Regions from separate parts of the Homo sapiens genome. Here region 1 is linked to region 2. Evidence: promoter capture Hi-C in 16 types of primary human blood cells and fetal thymus (Javierre and others, 2016). All regions are on one chromosome and are shown on one strand. Each heading gives the region's core, a stretch centred on a gene start or on the middle of the fragment in contact. The rest is flanking DNA. Distances are from core to core; before and after follow the strand shown.

The links. The method cuts DNA at HindIII sites, captures the fragments that hold promoters and counts their contacts. A CHiCAGO score of 5 or more calls a contact.
Region 1: a fragment that was not itself captured here is called in contact with the fragment with the promoter of SLC1A3 in region 2 in 1 of 17 cell types (M2 macrophages); the score reaches 5.0 in M2 macrophages.

Annotation. Positions count from the first base shown.
Region 1 is chr5:36,398,065-36,403,117 of GRCh38, forward strand. No RefSeq gene overlaps it. Among named protein-coding and RNA genes, the nearest start is that of RANBP3L, 99 kb to the left of the region's middle. The HindIII fragment of the contact is 698 bases long and covers 985-1,682 here.
Region 2 is chr5:36,604,871-36,610,304 of GRCh38, forward strand. SLC1A3 (solute carrier family 1 member 3) reads left to right here and starts at 1,736. Exons shown (of 10, transcript NM_004172.5): 1 at 1,736-1,865; 2 at 3,459-3,734. The coding sequence starts at 3,554. RefSeq lists an enhancer at 1,843-1,942. The HindIII fragment of the contact is 8,493 bases long and covers 1-5,434 here.

The DNA.
Region 1 (5,053 bases), core at 84-2,583, 210 kb before region 2:
CTATCCTTGCTGACAACATAAATCCTTTCTTCATACTGAAAAGACCGGAAAACAATTCTGTTTCTTTAGACGGTTCTTTGCTATAAAACTTCTTCATTTAAACAGCACTTTCTTAGCCCTTGTAGAATTTGTTTTGTTGAAGTGCTTAGTCTGTCTTTGAAATAAGCATATTTCATCTAATTTTGAATGATTCCAGCTGCTGGATTACCTATCTTGAAAGTGAGTCAGGAGACTTGTTGGTTTGGGGGGATTAGAGAAGGAAGTAGATTTCAATTTTCCAAAATGCAAGTCTGACACCTTCTGGAAAGCATGTGACTATTACACCCACAAGTTAGTTCCCTTGGTCCACTATTGAGAAGGCCAGGGGTACATGAAGTTAGATGGGCAAAATCTTGCATTTTTATTTCTATAAACTGCTATTTAATATTTAGGATTTTCTTCAATTATGAATATGGACAACTAACCATAGTAGTATTATTAGTAATGTTGTCAACAGTAGAAATTATAGATTTAAAAAATCACATTATAATTATTGCAGATATCAAAAAGTATTGTTTACACTCACCATTACTTTGAAATTCTGATAGACCTGTCATTAGATCTCGTTACTTAATGAGTTAGTATAAAACACGTGCATTAGTATTTCATATATTTGCTATTTTAACCTTATGACTTTTGAATATTTCAGCATAATTGGTTTTCTTTGAAAATCTATATATATTATTAATATTTGGCACACAAAGAATATTTTGAGAAGTTGTCTATAGTTTACAACGAAACAGCTATGGGTTTATGGTACAAAAAAGATTAAGAATGCTTGTTCTAGATGCATTCTAAAAGGGATAGAGGAGGACAAAAGAATATATAGAACTACATCTCTCTTTCACTAAAATAATGATTTTTAGTTCTTGTGTATAGAGTTAAATGGCAAGAGTATTTTAATATAAAATAATGTTTTGATATTATATAATGATTAATGTACAAAGCTTGTCTTTCCTTTTTCTTCTCGTGAAAATGGACCCCAAAACTGTGTCAAGGGAACTACCCCTTTTTCCTTCACTTCCCTCCCTCTACCCCCCACCACAAAGTTGAGTTTTTAAAAAATGTCTTTTTTAAACTATGAAGTTCATTTTTAATTTTTATATCAGGTAATAATTCCTGGACACTGAATTGCAATTGACAAAGGGAATAAGAAAAGACTAGCAAATTTCCCATCATTCATAAAAATGCTTCTACATTAGAAACAGCAGAAACACACCTGAGCTCTATGGTGTTCCTGGGCAAGCAAGGGGGCTACTGTTGAGCACAGTCTGTGTGTGGAGCTGCTTATTTTAACAAGATGGACTGGAGAGTCGGCTCCAAGTGTGTAGCATATGCTCTGAGGGAGCACAAGATCATCCAGCAGGAAGCAGAAAGAAAAAATTGGAACTTCTATTTCTGTTTATCTAAAATTTGAAAACCAACCAACTTTACCTGTATTTCTCACATATTCTGTCTGTACGTCAGCAGGTCAGGATCCTATGAGAGGCATGAGGTGTCCTCAGCAAGGTGTGGAACTTCCACAAAGCAGTGGGGTTGGCAGCCACCCTTCATCCTTCCTCTGCTTTGGAGCTGCTGAGACATTTGCAGTTTTTGTGTGCCCAGTTAAGTGACTCCACAAATGCATCATCTTGTTTTAACTAAGCTTGTCTTCACAAAGTGGAGTTCCACATGGAACTGTGGGTTGAAGATATTTGCAATAATGCGATCTCATAAACTTATCAAAATACAATGGCAGAGGTTCATTTACTCCTAATGTGACCCTTTCAGAAACAATACAAAGAAAAAAAATGACCAACTCATAACATCTAATAATTAATTGAATGTCCTAAAATAGAAGTAATCAAGACGATTTAATATACAGATTGATAAATGTTGTTGCTAATGATGACCTTGCCTGCAGTGCATATTGTGCCTTGAGAAGTTAGTTAATAGTAGCCATACATATAAAGAACTTATATATATATATGTAAGTTCAAAGATTATTTACTAAGAAAAATACATTATCAAAAGAGTTTGAATAGTACTATTATAAAGCTCCAAGAATAAAGTTTTTGAACCAAACCATGAATAAAAAAGTTCTATTGTGAGTTTAGCATCATTAGAAGAGGGAGTGCCATGTTGGCCAAAGTGAGTTTTGCTGGCCCAGGATATTAAATCTAACAATAATGTGGAACAGCAAGAAGACATTGTTGGTTGAAATGGACATTAGGGTATTGTGGACTGAGTGTATTTATCCATCTCTGCCTGTCTCCCTAGTTAGACTGTGGACCTCATGCAGCCAAGAATTGTGTCTATTAGTCCCACATTCCAAGCTGCTGCCTGGCATCAGTAGGTGCTCAGAAAACTTTTGCTGGGCTTATGGATTCAAAGAAACAAATAACTAAGGGGAATTTTACCTTTGGTTTATAGCACAATTTCTCTTTGCCCCTTAGCATTTCCCAGTGATGGGAAGTTATTCCAAGTTGGAAAGCAGAATTCAAATGACAGGACCAAGAGCCTGAGTTGACAGAAAACATCAGCTCCCAGAGACCTGCAAGTCCCTCCCGATCCTGGGCCTCCTTTAGCCTTTCCACATTGCACTATATTACACCAACTACAATTTCAAGCCATATTTGTGTTGCTGGTTGTCTCCCACTGTTATTTGGGGAGCTCCTGGAGGGGAGACACAGTGTCTTACTCATCCTTATTTTCCTGATGGCTAGAACAATGCCAGACACAGAAGAAAGCAGCAGGGAGCAAATGCATATGAGCAGGTGCTACCTGCTCAGCGCCAGATGATGACATATGCTATCTATTCAATTATCACACTAACCTTACAAAGGTTAAATTACATTCCCATGGCCACACAGTAAGTAAGGGATCCAGGATTTTGAGTCCAGGTTTGATTCCAAGTCCAGGACTCTTTCTACTACCCCCATATTATGTCAATAAATGTGGGATACATAAAGCGGTTGATTAACTAACATAACCTCTTCATTGTGGCTCTCAAATGACAGACATACAAATATGGCTCCCTGCCACATAGTGGAGGCCACTTCATTTTCAAGAGCTTCAATCATCAACTTCCTTTCATTGATCTAAACTCTACTTCCCTACAACTTCTACTTACTGCTCCTTGTTCTTCTCCAGAGCCACACGGGATAACTAATGCCCCTTCCACAAAATCAGCCCTTGGCTTATGAAGACAGTCACTATGTGTCTACCCCTCACCAAGTAGCTGTTTTTCCATGCCATCATGACCAATCGGCTTGCAGGAAGCAAAAAGGAAGCCTGATTTTAATCTTTTAATTGTGGATCCTTTGCCATGAATTGTGTATCTTATCTAGCCAGAAGGTTCCTGAATTTATGCTGAGCTAGACCCAAATAGGATATGCCTTCCGTGTGCTCTGTTATGCACCAAAACACGGCAGTGAACCCCCAGTTGGCCATTGCTTTTTCCTTTGTGAATGTTCACCTATGCTAGCAAGCACAGGTTGCAGGCCTGGGGGAGGTGGGTGATTCACCAGGTGTGTCTGGATGGGCTCTATGGAAAGTACCCTTAGCAGCTTCTCTCAAAGTGCAGTCAGGAACCACCTGCATCAGAATCAGTGGAAGGCTGTGTTAAAATGCGAATTCCTGGCCCCACCCTAGAACACCTAGATCAGAATTCCTAGGATAAGACCTGGAATCCTTACTTTTAAATGAGCACACCATCCAGCGATGATTCTGATGCATACTCAAGCTTGGGAGGCTCTGGACTAAAGCAGGCCATGCTTAAGTGGCATGGCAGTTGCCATGTGGATAGTGAAATCCACATTGGTGGATGGCAACTAGAGTCAGTTCACATAAATAAGAAATATTTTTAAATGAAATGGGGTTGTCAATACTGATGTAATGTAAGAAAAGCAAAAGGTTCTGGCAAGGAAACTTAGCAGCAATCACATAGGAAACCATGATTAAAAAAGAAAAAAGAAAAAAAGGATCCTGTAGTTGGCAGGGCTGGCCTAGGCAATGTAAGTGGACACTTGTAACAGCCCCTTTGAAAGGTTCTGAAAATTCCTCTGAGTGGGACTCTCTAGTGGTGATTTATAAAGGAGTGAGGTGATTGGCCCTTTTTTTGCAACCATTAGATTTTCTTTGATTTGGAAGAACACATGGCTAAGATGGAAGATGAATTCCTAATGTTAGCTTGGACCCATCTGAGGGCTGTGTTGACAAGGGACAAAGTAGTCTCTGCCAAACTCAGTGTCTCCTATGGGGCTTTCACTGAAACCCAGTGGGTTGAGTCCTCGGTGTCTCTGAAGGATTTCTGAAATAAAATAACCCTTCATCCCCACTCCCAACCTCCTTTATTAAAAGAAAATATTTTTTATATAAATTGAATAAACGCCGAAATCCCATATGGCTCAGGTGATACTTAGATGCACTCAGAAACATCCGGGAACCAAAAGTAATAAAAAGAAATTCCATTTTTTACTTTTGTTTTTTAAAGAAATTAAGGGAGCTTCCATTTCTGTCACTAAGTACTACTTAAAATCGTCTCTCCCCTTGTTCTTTCTCTCTCATACCTCTTAGCTGCCCAAAGCCTCTTCTTCACAGTCTGACTCAGTTCTCTCTGCAGAAAGCCTCTGGACTCACTGGGGCTGAAAGGTCGCATGTAGGGGAAGGAACAGCAAGGCAAAAGCTCTTGTAGAAACCATAAGTGATGCCTTGGGAATTCTGCTCTGAGAGCTGTTGTGAGCCCTGCCTGGAATGTTTTTAGCTTCTCTGGGGGTCTTGCTGTTAGTGAGGTTATTTCTGTTGCTGACTTCTCTTCCTTCTCAGCCTCTATGGTCTTGCACCTGATTAAAATAAACAGAAGCCACCAGACAGATCACTAAGAAGGTAGAAGTTCACGAACAAAACAGCTGGTGTATTTGAGCAAATATTTTTTTTTGTTTGACAAAGTTCCGCTCTTGTTGCCCAGGTTGGGGTGCAATGGCGCGATCTCAGCTCACTGCAATATCTGCCTCCCTGGTTCAAGCGATTCTCC
Region 2 (5,434 bases), core at 486-2,985:
AAGTCAAAGTCATTTCCACCAAAAAAAAAAAGCGGTGGGGGGGGGGGGTGTGCAAATTAATCCTAAACTCATGGCTCAGATAGGACCTGGTATAGTAAATAAATGCTTTTAAAAGTAGTCATGGCATTGAGAAATGGCTCCATGCACCTAAACCAGAGGCACCAATGTAAAAACTAGTAATTGTGTTTTAACACAAAAGATTGAAAAGCGTTTTGTTTCACATCCTAATATTATTCCACCCACTTAAAAAGAGTTACTTAATATTGACTCTGTATTAGGTATAAGACAAGTTCTTGCCCTCAAAGAACTTATAATTTAGTTGAGAAACCAAAACTTAACATGAGCTTAAAAAGAAGGATGCAGTACAAAACATGGTATAATTAAGTGCTAAACAATGTAGTATAGATGCTCAGTGACCTAGGAGATCAGAGGAAGGGAAGGGTCACTGAGGGCTGGGAATGTCAAAAGCATGTACTTTCAGTAAGTTCTTAAAATGATAGCATGTTAGAAAGCTGTTATAATTGCTGCTGATTTGTAATTTTAAAGCATTGACATGATTCACCATTGCTTTCCAACCAGTAGCTGTTTAAAAGGACATACAGTTGAGGGTGAAAGGAGATATTTCTTTATGATCTCCAGAGATTTGTATTGAGGGGAAAAAAGACATACTTTCTTGTTGAATAATAGACCAAGAATTGAGCATATTTTGCATGGGGAATATTAAATTCAGTGAACAAGAATCCAAACCTCAGGCTGTGATTCTGGTATAAATTTTTGTTTCTAATGAACCATTTTCTTCCTTCTAAAGAAGATTTAAGTTTTGGGAATAAGTCACCTCAAAAAAATTTTTTTTTATTTTCTAATATCTATTTTCACAATTTATTTTTCTTTTAAGAAAAGTGGACTAGAAGCTCAAGTTACCTTCTCAAGGCAATGAGAATTTTTTAGCTCTAAAAAAGTTGTGTGTGGTAGGGAGAACATTTAGCATCCTTTAAAATGGAGACATCTGAACAGCAACCTATCTTTTGAATCACCAAATCTCAAGTGTACTTTGCACTCTTGGTCTTAAAATGCTTTTCATTTTCTAGTTTGGCAAAAATTCCAGTCTCTTTACATTTGCTACCTTTTCCGTCTTTGCAACACAGGCAGTGTGAGCTAAATTAGGTTTGTTAAAATGAAGTTTTGAAGTTTCAACTGCTGAAATAGAGGCATGTCCCTAACTTTAGACAAATTTAGAGAATCGTAGTAAGCATTATTTTTTTTCTACATACTTGTCTGCATTCAGTGTCTTCCCAAGAAACGTCAGTTAATTCCCCGATTCGAAAAAGGAACTTTCTCGTAACAGTTGTACAACCAGGCTAAAGAGCACACCCTCGTCTTCCCTGAAAGGGAGGAAACATGCAATAATGTGAGGTAATTAAATTTAGCCTTAGAAAAGTCTTTGAAACGTTCTAATCAAGACTTTCAGCTTTCCGATTGTGTGCGCTTTATTTTTCAATTCTTCCTAGTCCCGGTTTTGCATTTCTAATGACAGTGAACTGACAAAGCGTGAAAGTGGTCTAAGGAGCAAAACAAAGCCAGCAAGCCTGCTTCTGGTGTGCCAAGATTAATCAATATTCCAGAAACCTCGGGGTTTCCCCCTCCTCCCTGTGCGGTTTCCATTCCCCACTCCTCCTTTCCCGGGCACAGACTCCTCCCCTTTTCTTAAGTTGCCCTGATAGTAACTTGCAGTTTCAGAGCACATGCACACTGTCAGGGCTAGCCTGCCTGCTTACGCGCGCTGCGGATTGTTGCTCCGTTGTACCTGCTGGGGAATTCACCTCGTTACTGCTTGATATCTTCCACCCCTTACAAAATCAGAAAAGGTAAGTGTCACATTCTGTGTTCCTGCTGGGTTTAATTTCTCCTTTCACTTCTCTGCCGATGTATTTTGCCTTCCAAGCAGAGGAGTAGCCTGAATCAAGGCTAGCCATTTTGGTAGATAAAGTCCTTGTTAGTCATCTCACGTCGTGAGAGTGTGGTGTCTGTTTATGCCGGGTCCGCTGTTAATTCGGAGTTGAGTCATTCGGGGTGGATTGGGGGCAGATTGTGGCGCGAGATCTAGAAAAGGATCAAGGTTGAGCGGATCTGCTTAAAAGTGACTGGTAAGAGGAATCAGAGCTATTAGTTTAAAAAAAAAAAAAATCTGGTCTCTCCTATTTCCCGGTCTTCACTTCTCCCTAAGCATTTAATCCAGTGTGAAGTCTTAAACAAATTAGAAGTCTTAGTATCACTGACCCCAACTTGCAATTTTATTTAAAAGGCAAACTGTTAAGACAAGTCTTTTTTTTTCCTGCACTGGGATTGCGAGAAGTCATTTGCGAGGAGTCCTTTGGTTTCCAGTTACCTCCCCCACAGGCGCACACGCTGGCTGCTTGCGTTGGCAGCGACACACATCCATGGTACGGCTGGTTTTCACTCGGATTGATTATGGGAAGGGCTATGGATTAGAGCTCCTGTAAAGCACCAGGAGGAATCCCTTGATTTTTCAGAACAGCTGATTTCCACCAGGAAAGAGATTTACTGAAATGTAGTTAAATAGCGTGAGTGCTTTAAAGAAACCAGAAACCACAAGCTGTAATGTTTGGAATGAAAATTGGTTTCATCTCATCTGTTCTAGAAATCCTAAATTTTAAAACGCTAAAAAGTCAGCGATAGTTTCCTCGGAAGATTCCAGCATGTGTGTCACAAAGAAAAACACTACTTCATACTTCTACTTGTGATAAACGAAGCTGAATTGTGATTTCAGATGATTTATAGATGTGCCCAGAGCACTTTGCTTATTTCATGGAAAAAAAATGAAAAAATTACCCTGTAAAATAGTCACATGTATTTCCCATGTACTGTGGGCACTTGTGTTCTTTTTATGACCATATTTACTAGTAGATATTATTATATTTTTTTCTTAATGAAGAAAATAGCTGGTTACTTTACTGCATGTAACAGAGACAACTCCCACCTATCAGTATCTTAATTATTTTTATTGACCTGGTTATGCTTTCAACCATGTATACAGCATAATTTGTCAAGTAATGATTGAATACTTTCTGTGCATTCAGTTCAATTGGACATTTACTGATTGTGTACGTTGTGCAAGGCATCAGCTGGGTTCTGCGGGGGAGGGTGGGAATAGGGGTTCTCAGTCAGATCTAGCTCTGAAGAACCCTTTTATAGCCTCATTGGAAGGGGAAGGACGGATTTTTAAAAAGAAAATAGAATATATTCCGAATTTATGCACATTTCTCACACGTGGTCCACTAAAATATGCACACTGCAACCTTGAGGTCTGGTATTGTGGCTCTCCAGTCCTTGATTCCTGCTGAGATTATGCAATTTGCCAAGAGCTTGCCTGGTGTGGAGCAGCACTGATTTCTCACCCCTGGAGGCTATAACTCATGTCTCTTTTTCTCCCATTCTAGTTGTGTTTTCTAATACCAAAGAGGAGGTTTGGCTTTCTGTGGGTGATTCCCAGACACTGAAGTGCAAAGAAGAGACCCTCCTAGAAAAGTAAAATATGACTAAAAGCAATGGAGAAGAGCCCAAGATGGGGGGCAGGATGGAGAGATTCCAGCAGGGAGTCCGTAAACGCACACTTTTGGCCAAGAAGAAAGTGCAGAACATTACAAAGGAGGATGTTAAAAGTTACCTGTTTCGGAATGCTTTTGTGCTGCTCACAGTCACCGCTGTCATTGTGGGTGAGTCATTTGATTAAAAACAAAAAAACCTGTATCTTGTTTCTCTGGGGCATCTGGCTGCCCGGGGAATATTATCAGATGAACTAGTTGTAGGTATCAAAATGGTAGCCTAGGCTTTCCTCTGAACTTGATGATTTTTCTCCATAAAAATGACTGTTTTGGCTTGTTTGGAGCAATATATAGTAAACACATCATTAGGCATCATTAGGCATTATGCAAATCAATTGTGTGAGGAAGAAAAATAAATAAAATATTTTCCCATTTCATGTAAGGATAAGGAAGTGATCATTTAATCATTAGGCATGACAAAGCAAGCATGCTAGATTTGGCCAAAATGTAATTATATACAATGTCAGTTGCACTTAAAACTAATTTATACAATTAGTACACCTAAAATGACATGTTGGTTCCAAATAGTAATTATATTCTAACTGGTGCTGACTTGAAGCTGAGTATCAACGCTTAGGCACAGAGACCGAATATTTTATGTGTTTGCACTCTCTCACCCAGCAACTGGGAAAGGTAGATTGGGGAAAATGTTAACACAGATCTCTTTCATTCATTGCTTTGCAGAGCCTGCCATAACCAGCTATACCTTTTTTTGAATCATTTCCATCTCTTACTAATTTAGCAGGGTTGACAGCAATCTGTACTAATAAAATATTATTGTTTTGTTTTGTTTATTGATCTTAAAAGTTATAGTTTATTACTTATGGGTGGCATTGATCCTACTTTAAAATATAGCTGAAAAAACCTACTTATTTGGAATTTTTGACCAAACCAATACAGAAATCCTTAGATTGACAAACATATACGCCAATGCCAGGTTGTAAAAATATTCCAACTTAACCTACCAATTTGCCACCAAAAAAGAGGCATTCAGTACCGTTTTAATCTCTACTTTGGAGTTTGCCAAGATTTCCATCAACTTTAAAGAGGTAATGATTTAATAAAGATTAAGAAAATTCTGTAGTGTGTAAATATAACTTTTTTCAAGAAAATTGAATTCTTAAATTGTAGACAAATGAAGTATAGCAGGAGAGTTTGTCACAAGATTTTAGATACATCCCATTTTAACATCATTGTCTTCCATTAGTAATCACTGGTGATTAATGATGGTTCAATTAATTTAGAGATATTCAAAGAGAACATGTCCTAACTGACCCAGAGAAGTAATGGCTTTCCACAGTAGGTTTCCAGGCTTGAATATATTCCTGGGTGAAATATTTCAGTCCCACATCATTGTCCTGGAAGTCAATGCAAAATACAGTCTGCTTGCCTCATTTGTCACTCTGAATCAAAGTCATTGCCAAGCCAAGCAATAGCTGCATAATAATAATTGCAAACATTTATATAGTACTATTCCAGCTACTCTGTAGGAGTTTTGTTTATATTAGCTCACTTAATCCTCAAACAAGCCTATGAAGCGAGTGAGAAGGTATGATTACTATGATCTTCCTCATTTTGTAGATGAAACTGACTGTGGAGAGATCAAGCAATTTGCCCAAAGTGACAACACTAGTAAACTCTAGAGCTGGAAGTCAAATTCAGTCTAGCACCGGAGGCCATTCTCTTAACCACTCTATTCTTCCTCTGCTCTGCTGCTAGTTGACATCTTTTAAGAGATGCCAGGAAGAGAAATACCCTCATGAGTTGATGAAGGCCAGTTAGCTAGCAGTGCATTCACACAGCATTGTCAT